2 separate regions of the Homo sapiens genome follow, and region 1 is linked to region 2. Evidence: promoter capture Hi-C in human tissues and cell types (Jung and others, 2019). All regions are on one chromosome and are shown on one strand. Each heading gives the region's core, a stretch centred on a gene start or on the middle of the fragment in contact. The rest is flanking DNA. Distances are from core to core; before and after follow the strand shown. Region 1 holds the start of CES3 (carboxylesterase 3). Region 2 overlaps CBFB (core-binding factor subunit beta).

The links. Contacts are between HindIII fragments. The study calls those that stand out against the background at their distance.
Region 1: the fragment with the promoter of CES3 here is called in contact with a fragment that was not itself captured in region 2 in 5 of the 25 tissues and cell types used here (IMR-90 fibroblasts, dorsolateral prefrontal cortex, hippocampus and 2 more).

What each region holds. Positions count from the first base shown.
Region 1 is chr16:66,958,494-66,963,966 of GRCh38, reverse strand. It overlaps CES3 (carboxylesterase 3), which reads right to left and starts at 2,701. Exons shown (of 13, transcript NM_024922.6): 1 at 2,578-2,701; 2 at 584-788; 3 at 338-476; 4 at 32-165. The coding sequence starts at 2,659. RefSeq lists enhancers at 1-229, 2,510-2,719, 2,504-3,005, 2,810-3,059. The HindIII fragment of the contact is 25,956 bases long and covers 1-5,473 here.
Region 2 is chr16:67,043,372-67,048,386 of GRCh38, reverse strand. All of the region lies in intron 3 of CBFB (core-binding factor subunit beta), which reads right to left. Among named protein-coding and RNA genes, the nearest start is that of CBFB, 17 kb to the right of the region's middle. The HindIII fragment of the contact is 7,078 bases long and covers 1-5,015 here.

The DNA.
Region 1 (5,473 bases), core at 1,452-3,951, 86 kb after region 2:
GGCAGTGCTCTGGCCATGCCTGTCGTCTCACCTGAAGAAGCCAAGGACCCCAAGGCGGTACTGGACTGTAACCACGACCACATCCCCATAGGCAGCCAGAGCTGATCCATCGTAGGAGGTGGCAGCGCCAGTTATCAGAGCGCCTCCATGGACCCATACCATGACCTGCAGAGGTGGCCATGGGGCACTGACCCCCAAGCTCCTGAGACCTTAGCTGCCCACCTGCCAGCCCAGGCAGTCTCAGGACCGCTAGGGTGCTTTGGAAACAGGGACGGGGAGGGGACAGGTAGGCATAGTGGAGCTGGATCAGGTGGACAGGGCCCTCTGGGGTGCCTACCGGCCTACCGGACCCTGCGGGGACCTCAGCTGGGCTATAGACGTTGAGGACCAGGCAGTCCTCTGAAACGGAGAAGATCTGCTGTTTTCCGTTGAGGACAAATCTGCTGCTGTTCATGCTCTCCACGTCTTGTAGGCACCTGTGGCCAAGGGTGGGCCTGAGGTCCAGCTGTTCAGCCCCACAAGCCCCAGCAGCAGGATTCTCCTGCAACCTGCCTGTTTGCCCGCCTCCACCAGCACTACTCACATTGGGGGCGCAGTGCTGGCATCCCGCACACCCTCCCAGGGCTGTGCTGGGTGTGGGGCTGAGAACCGGTCAGGGCCCAGTGGCGGCTGGGCAAATGGAATGCCCAGAAAGACATTCACAAGGCGGTCTGTGCCCTTCACGCCCACCTGCCGGCCTCGCACACGACCCAGGGTGGTGTCTACTTCAGGCTGAGCAACTTCGGGCCCTGAGGGAAGGACAGAAAGGCCACGGGGTGAGTTTGCAGCCCCCATGAGGGGAAGGAGTGAAAGACAAACCCTCAGGCTGTTCTCAGTACTTACCACACAGCATCTTGGTAACCTTCCCAGCAAGCCGGTGAGCCTGGTCTTAGGTTGACGCCCAACTTCCTCCTCCCTGCCTGCCTGAGAGTCACTACCACTCCACTCCAGGCCAGACCGGGCCTGCCACTAGGGCCTTGTGCCTTGGGGCCAGCCACTTGCCCATTTCTTTGTTTTTATTTTTTGTGTTTGAGACAGGGTCTAGCTCTGTTGACCAAGCTGGAGTGCAGTGGCACGATCTTGGCTCACTGCAACCTCTGACTCCCGAGTTCAAGCGACTCCAGGGCCTCAGCCTCCCAAGTAGCTGGGATTACAGGTGTGCACCACAACGCCTGGCTAATTTTTGTATTTTTAGTAGAGACGGGGTTTCATCATGTTGGCCAGGCTGGTCTCGAACTCCTGACCTCAAGTAATCCATCCACCTGGGGCTCCCAAAGTGCTGGCATTACAGGCATGAGCCATCATGCCCAGCCCTGAATTATTTTTTAAAAAGTAGAGATGGGGTCTCATTATGTTGCCCAGGCTGGTCTCAAACCCCTGGGCTCAAGCAATCCTTTCACCTCAGCCTCCCCAAGTGCTGGGACGACAGGTGTGAGCCATCATGCCCAGCTGGCACCATGTTTCTTGTACGGCCTGCAGAACTGTGGCCTAACTAAACTTCTTTTCTTTGTGAATTACCCAGCTTCCTGTATTCTTTTACAACAACACAAACAGACTAAGACTGGAGGACTGCCTCTCCCAGGCTAGACAATTCCTAGAGATAGGAGGCAGCTCTCTGGGGAGGTGGAATTGGCAGGCATCTCTCTAGGGAGCAAAGGCAAACCAGTCCAGAGCCATACCCAACCACCTCCTTTATACAGCTCTCAGCTCCTGGCTGCCATCCACCAGCCATAATCACCACAGAGCCGGGTACCAGGAAGCTGGCTGGGGACAGCCCCTTTCCCCAGAGCCTGCTGCCAATCGTAAACCTCTTTAGCCTGCCTTGCCTATTCCTTCCCGTGGCAACCGTGTCAAAGGGGCTTGCCCACATTTTCCCCCTGCTCCCTCTGCCTCCTGGCTGATGCCACCTGGTGCTTCCCTCTGTGGCCCTATGTGGCATGGCCTGCTTCCTGTTCACAGGGAACTACGAGCAAACTCCTTCCCTCATGATAGTCATTTGCATATCTGCTTGTCTTACTATACTTCATTAAAACAAATCTCAGGCCCCCTTAAGACATAAAGACAGGCCAGGTGCGGTGGCTCACGCCTGTAATCCCAGCACTTTGGGAGGCCGAGGCAGGTGGGTCACCTGAGGTCAGGAGTTTGAGACCAGCCTGGCCCACATGGTGAAACCCCATCTCTCCTAAAAATACAAAAATTAGCCGGCCATGGTGGCAGGTGCCTGTAATCCCAGCTACTCAGGAGGCTGAGGCAGGAGAATCGCTTGAATCCAGGAGGCGGAGGTTGCAGTGAGCCGAGATCGCGCCATTGCACTCCAGCCTGGGTAACAAGAGCAAAACTCTGTCTCAAACAACAACAACAAAAACAACGAAACAAATACAGCAAGAGCAGAGCGCCTGCCCAGAGAGAATGCACAACCCCTGGTCTGCCTCCAAACAGGACTGTTTCCTGAGCGGTCGGCCCACTGCTCCCTGTCCCTGTCTCACTCTTGACTCCTCCACACCAAGTACCTCTGCAGGCCCAGCAGGTGTGTCTTACCAGTGGCTGTGGCAGGGCATGCCAGGAGCAGACAGACCACCCCGACCAGGACCCCGGACTCCACTCTCACTGCTCTCTCCATTCTCCTTACAACTGGTTCGACAGAAGCTTCAGAAGGTGGAATAAGATCCCTGCCCTTCAGCACCACCGATCTCTAAAGGGCTGTGATATAGAACCTCCAAGGACAGCGCCACCTAGCTGGTGGCCAGCCCCATGCTCAGGCTGAGCCAGAGGCAGGGCTAGATGAGTGCCCTGCAGAGGCCTGGTTGATATGACAGCCCTCCCCGTCCCACTGTTTTCAAATTCCAGCTCTCCTGACTTGGTGATCTCCATGAAATCCTGTGCGTTCATCCCAAGGTGACCACATCACTGACCCTAGGAAGTGGTGGCCAGTGACCCTGGGGTGCCACTCCGAGTGGGCAACCCAGCCTGAGGTGAGGGCTTGATATGGTTTGGATGTTTTGTCCCCTCCAAATCTCATGTTAAAATGTGAAAGAAAATAAAACAGTGATGATAATAGGACCCACCTCATAGCATTGAAGTGAGGGTACATGTTTGCATGTGTGTGTGAGTGTGTGTGTGAAAACATGAGGCTTGGGACTGGGTGTGGTGGCTCATACCTGTAATCCCAGTGCTTTAGGAGGATGGGGCAGGAAGATCGCTTGAGCCCAGGAGTTTGAGACCAGCCTGGGCAACACAGGGAGACACGTCTCTAGAAAAAATAAAAAAAATTAGCCAGGTGTGATGGTGCATGCCTGTGGTCCCAGCTACTTGGGAGGCTGAGGTGAGAGGATCACTTGAGCCCAGGTTGTCGAGACTGCAGTGAGCTGTGATAATGCCACTGCACTCTAGGCTAGGCTATAGAGCAAGACAAAGAAAGAGAGAAAGAGAGAGAGAGAAGAAAGAAAGGAGAGAGAGAAAGAAGGAGAGAGAGAAAGGAGAGAGAGAAAGAAAAAGAGACAGAAAAAGAGAAAGAAACAAAAAGAGAAAAAAGAAAAATAGAGAGAGAAAGAAAGAGAGAGAGGGAGGGAGGGAGGGAGGGGAGGGGAGAGGAGGGGAGGGGCTTGGAACCAGAACTCATGGAAGCCTGAGGAGAGGAGAGTCTGGGAACCAGAACTGATGGAAGCCTGCTCTTGACCGGGGCGGGGATCTGCAGGGCATCTGTCTCTCTGCTGGCTTAGGAGGCTCCCACCCCCAGGGAGGGCAGGACTCACTTCTGGGCCTCAGTGTCAGGAACATGGCTGGCTGGGAGTAGGCGGTGGGAGGATGGATAGATATTTGCTGGCCCAGTGAAAGACAGAGTGAGGGTTGTGCCTAAACACGATGCCAGATCCTCTTCCGGGGCTCCAGCTGGCACCCAGAGCTGAAGAGACAGGCTTTAGGATGAAACTTCCCTTCTGCCAAAAATAACTAGTGCCAGCTGGGCATTGTGGCACAAGTCTGTAGTCCCAGCTACTCAGGCGGCTGAGGCAGGAGGATTGCTTCAGCCCAGGAGCTTGAGGCCAGCTTGGGCAACATAGCAAGACTCTCTCTCTAAAAAAAAATTCATAAAAAACCATTGCAGCTTCCTGAATCTTCCCCGGCAGCCTGGGGTGGGGTCTCCTTTTCAGAGCTGCCTCCAGACTTTGTCCTTCCCTATTCCACCTTCCTCTTCTTGTTGCCATCACAGCCCTGCCACCCCCCAGCCACACCCCCTTGATCATTTGCTGAAGATTTTAGCACCTGGCTCTGGCATGCTTTCCACCTTCAACACTCACATCAAGGCACCTGGATCTCTTCTCCGCCCACAATCTTACCTTCCATCTTCGGGTATAGATGCTGCCAGGAGAGCTCTCCATCTGCTCCCAAGGCCACGTTTCCCAACTCCCTGCAGCTAGGTCTGCCTTCCCTCCTAGCATTGTGGATGGGCCTACCAGGGCCAGGACTAGGGTGAGACAGGCCAGCAAGGCGCCCAGGGCATAAAAGTTAAAGAGTCACTCACCCCCGGGGTCATACCAGTAGAGGGTCGGCACCTGAGAATGAATGCCTTCTAAATTTTACACTTGCTTGTCTTGCTCTAGTCCCAGCTCTGGGACCTACCCATGGACACTAGACCCTGGTCCCCTCCCACGTCCCCAGGGCTGTCTCTTTGGTAGCAGCATCCCTCCCATCAGCTGCAAACACAGCTTCTGTGTAAATGCCACCATCAAAGCCTGCCTTGACCCACTTTGCCCTCTAGCTATTGCTCCATTCTTCTGTTTTTCCCCTTCCTTCCTTCCTTCCTCTTTCTTTCTCTTTCTTTCTTTCTCTCTTTCTTTTTCTTTCTTTTCTTTCTTTCTTTCTTTTTATTTCCTCTCTTTTCTTTGTCTCTCTTTCTTTTCTTTCTCTTTCTTCTTTCTTTCTTTCTTGCTTTCTTTCCCTCCCCCCCACTTCCTTCCTTCCTTCCTCTCTTTCTTTCTTCCTCTTCTTTTTTGTTTTTTTGGAGACAGGGTCTCACTCTGTCACCCAGGGTAGAGTATAGTGGCATGATCTTGGCTCACTGCAGCCTCAATCTCCTGGGTTTAAGTGATCCTCCCACCTTGGCCTCCCAAGTAGCTGCGACTACAGGTGCATGTGTGCCGTCATGCCTGGTTATTTTTTTACTTTTTGTATGTTTTTTGTAGAGATGGGATCTCCCTATGTTGACCAGGCTGGTCTCGAACTCCTGGGCTCAAGAAATCCTCCTCCCTCCACCTCCCAAAGTGCCAGGATTACAGGCGTGAGCCACCATGCCTGGCCCTTCTGTTCTTATTTCTAGGAAAGCTAGTCATCCACCTTTGCTGTCTCCAGTTTCTCTCCTTCCAGTCTCCACCAGAAGTTGCTCTCGACCTCCACCCAACAGCATGGCCTGTTGTTGATTCAATGTCTCCCATCCAAC
Region 2 (5,015 bases), core at 367-2,866:
CCTGGTCAACTGCCTGAATTTTCTTTTTTTCTTCATATCCAATGTTTTCATACAGAATATTCAGGATGGATATTTTAACCTTGGCCAATACATTTAAGGAAAATAAAAAATGTTTTAGGGGTTTTTTTTGTTATTTGTTTGTTTGGAGATGGAGCCTTGCTCTGTCACCCAGGCTGGAGTGCCGTGGTGCGATCTCTGCTCACTGCAACCTTTGCCTCCCAGGCCCAAGCAACTCTCCCACCCCAGCCTCTCTCAAGTAGCTGGAACCAGAGGCATGCGACACCACGCCTGACCAATTTCTGCATTTTTATTTTTATTTTTTTTGAGATGGAATTTTGTTCCCAGGCTGGAGTGCAGTGGCGCGATCTTGGCTCACTGCACCCTCTGCCTCCCAGGTTCAAGTGATTCTCCTGCCTTAGCCTCCCGAGCAGCTGGGACCAGAGGCACCCACCACCATGCCCAGCCAATTTTTGCATTCCTAGTAGAGACGGGGCTTCACCATGCTGGCCACGCTAGTCTTGAACTCCTAACCCCAGGCGATCCACCCGCCCTGGCCTTCCAGAGCACTGGGACCAAAGGCACGAGCCACGGCACCTGACCCAGTAAAAAAATGGCCAAGAAATGTTCTGGATAGCAAAGGGATGGATAGAAACTCAGGACTAAAAAGCTGGTGTGAATAAATATCCTAAAAAAAAAATTTAAAGGGTTCTCCCAAATGGCTCATTACTTAGAACACTGTTCTGCAAACAGGGCCACACGATTATTAGAAACTATCATTGTTATTATATGGAACAAACTTTGAACATCTATGATATGGGCAGATTTGTTTATTTGAAAACATCTACATTCTTCTAATGTAAATGTCGAAGTCACAAGTTTCTAGGCCATCCTTTTGTTTTAATCTGAAGATTAACCTGTCTTTACATCTGAAGTTTTAAAACACAAAAAGGCTCAGTACTGACTGCATACATGGGTAAAAGGTTTTTCATCCACAAAAACAACCTGCCAACCATCCCCAGACTCAGCCCTTTCCCTCTTAGGTACAGCCTGCATTAGAGTCCTGAAAGCACAGCAATACTGCCAAGAGGCACGTTTTATTTTTTTAAATAGTTTCCACACATGGCATTGAAGACATTTCAAATGGTATTTATTTATTGAGACAGAGTCTTGCTGTGTTGCCCAGGCTACAGTGCAGTGGCATGATCTCAGCTTATGCCTGGCTAATTTTTTTTTTTTTTTAGTAGAGACGGGGTTTCACTATGTTGGCCAAGCTGGTCTTGAACTCCTGACCTTGTGATCTGCCTGCCTTGGCCTCCTAAAGTGCTGGGATTACAGGTATGAGCTACTGCGCCCGGCCCTTCAAATGTTATTTAAAATTCTTAGTTCCTAAACACACATCAATTTGAGGAGGCCCAGCTTAAACTGAAAAGCTTATAACAGATAATACTTTCCAACTGTTCACGTGCATACTTTCATAAAAAAAGGAACAATAATTAAAGTCTACCATATCACTATTATACTTTAGCTTGTCTGTAGCTTCCAATCCTCTGTACAAAACTAAGCATCAAAGAATAATATTGAAGAAACAAAGTCTCTGCACCTGAAGGTAAACAGCATTTTTATGCTGTTAAAAAGAAATTACAAACGTTTTCTTCCCTGTAAGATGAGGATCACAAAAGTATCAGTGCATGTATGTCTGCATCAATTAGAACACTACCTGCAAGGGGGCATGAGGGAACTTTTTGAAGCAATGGTGAACTTTGGTGGTGGTTATACTACTGAATACACAGTTGTCACAGACTTGTACACTTAAAATAGGTGAACTGTACTACATGTAAATTATACCTCAATAATGCTGATTGAAAAACTACAAGTGAAAATGGGAAATAGTAAAACTAGGGCATAGCAGTGCTACAAAGAAATTAACATCTTCAGACAACAACATTTCAATAGTCTTTATCCTGGCAGCATTTGAATTAACCATTAAAAAAAAATGATGGGTACATGCCTGTAATCCCAGCACTTTGAGAGGCCAAGGCGAGAGGATTGCTTGAGTCCAGGAGTTTGAGACCAGCCTGGGCAACATGGTGAGACCCCCATATCTACAAAAAAATTACCTGGGCATGGTGGCGCGTGCCTGTGGTTCCAGCTACTTGGGAGGCTGAGGTGGGAGGATCGCTTGAGCCCAGGAGGCAGAGGTTGCAGTAAGCCAAGATCACACCACTGCACTCCAGCCTGGGTGACAGAGAGATATCTAGTTTCAAAAACAAACAAACAACAACAAAAAAGGCCAGGCACAGTGGCTCAGAGCGCCTATAATCCCAACACTTTGGGAGGCCAAGACAGGCGGATCACCTGAGGTCAGGAGTTTGAGACCAGCCTGGCCAAAATGGTGAAACCCCATCTCCAATAAAAACACAAAAATTAGCCAGGTGTGGTGGCGGGTGCCTGTAATCCCAGCTACTTGGGAGGCTGAGGCAGGAGAATCGCTTGAACCTGGGAGGCGGAGGTTGCAGTGAGCCAAGATTACATCACTGCACTCCAGCCTGGATGACAGAGCAAGACACTGTCTCAAAAAAAAAAAAAAAAATGTAGAAAGTAGAAGGAAGGAGGGGAAGAGTGAAGGATGCTCTTCTCAGACATATTATTTCTGCCTTCTCTCACTTGGAATATGTAATTCAGGAAAGGTCATGAAAGAGAATTTCACCTTTACACTAAAATGGAAATAATGCAATCCAAAAGAAGAGAAAACGGGACTTCACAATCTTCAAGTGCTTCAGAGGTGCATTTACCATGTATGCAGATTCACGTACTCTAACTGGAAGGTACTATGACATACTAATTTTAAAACATTTTAATTTTTTTTTTTTCAGACAGAGTCTTGCTCTGTTGCCCAGGCTGGAGTGTTGTGGTACAATCTCAGCCCACTGCAACCTCCGCCTCCCGGGTTCAAGCAATTCTCCTGCCTCAGTCTCCCAAGTAGCTGGGATTACAGGCACATGCCAGCATACCTGGCTAATTTTTTGTATTTTTAGTAGAGGTGGGGTTTCATCACGTTGGCCAGTCTGGTCTCGAACTCCTGACCTCAGGTGATCCACCTGCCTCGGCCTCCCAAAGTGCTGGGATTACAGGCATGAACCACCCCACCTAGCCAAAACATTTTAATTTTTTCAGAAAGTCGACTTCCTCTCTTAGATTGAAAAATAACTAAAATAACTAAAATAAAAACTTTTCTTTAAAAATACAAACGCTCTGCCAGCTACAAAGGTGTCAAATATATATATATATATAAGCTTGCAGTTACCAGTTCTAAATTTTATGATTCCGTTATTATTAGAGTATTATAGTTTATCTAAAGCATATTTTTAAAAACCAGATTTCAATACACTAAACTGTCAATAACTAAGTGCTGTCAATTCATATTTTAGTCGAACTGAAATACTTAAAATCCAGATGTGACAAGGTATTTGTAAAGTTGTCTAATTTCTCTTGAAGAAAATCACACTCCAAAGCTTTACCATAGAGATCTTTTATTTGGAATGACTGGGCTATCTACAGAGAAGGAACTTCTTGAGCTTAAATAGGGATTTCTCAAAGCTAACATCAAGAAGTCCTGTAAACTCTGCCAAATTGTGGATGGTATATAAACAAACACAATATGTATTTTGGGACAAAGATCCTGCAGGCAAGTGCGTAAATGGTACCAGAAGAAGCAGAATCATAGACCTTTATTAGAAAAGGCCATTTAAAATAAAATTCTGTCCTCACTCATTAAATCCAATCTTGTTAGATTTTGCTTTATTTTATGCTCATAAAAATAAATTAAAAGACTTTTAAGTATAAAGTCCAGAAAGAAAAAAAATACAACTTATCAAAATTTTTAAAAGTAGCTACTCTAATGACATATACTTAATAAATACTTCTCGATGTCTGACATTAATGTATTTGACTATCAATTAAAATCATAAGCTATAAACAAGAATGTAACAACCATAGAAAAGTTTAACCTCTCTTTTTCTGAGGTCAATGTGGTAAAAACGAGATAGCATATTCAATTTCCACAGAAAAAAATGAACAGTAGCACTGTAAAGTTCATTTTTTTCCTTTTATGAAATGATTTTCATACCCCTTATCTTTAAAGTCATAAACTGGGATCGCAAAGTAAGTACATCCAATCATTATTTCAAAATCCCAATGAAGCTTTATGAGACACAGAATACATGTAAAAACCATTAATCTGACCACTCAAGACTAATAATTTATGGTCAACCATAATCACTTGCATTTATTTGAAATAAAAGTAATTGGAAATAAGTCCTAAGAGGAAAGATCAAAGGAACTGGAGTTGCCTGGTCTACACAATTTTAACTTAAGAATGATTTAAATTCTGATTAGTTGCTTTTCCCTTGTCTTTTGACAGCTAGATTAAAGAATTAAGAACATTTTGGCTGCCAGTGTTTGTAACACACCAGGATGGAACACTTGGGAAAGATGTAGTGTTCCAACATTGTTCAACTACCTGACGTGAAGCTTACCTAAGGCACACTGTAGCACAAACACTCTATCAATCAGTTAGCTATAATCTCACCCTACAGAACCATCAAATTGCCTAACTGTAGACAGGGGTTTACAATTTAAAAGGCATTTTCACATATTCTGGTACTACATTTAATTCTCACATGAGGCACATGAATAGGGCAGACATTCTGATCCTCATTTACATGTTAAGGAAAATAGTTATGACTGTCTTGACTCAAATCTAGAGCTCTTTCTATTATACTGTTATTAGTTTAAATCATTTCTGAGAAAGATCCTTATTAAGAGCCAATGTAGACAGCTCACCAGGTACCTGGGTATAAAAGTTTCAAATATATTTGAAGGATTATAAAATTCTGTGCTCTGACTTGGTCATATGTAAGGTATATACTTATAATCAGTCACCCGTTAACAGACCTTCCTTATAGAAGCCCTTGATTTGAAAATATTCTATAGCCACATAAGCAACAGAATGAATA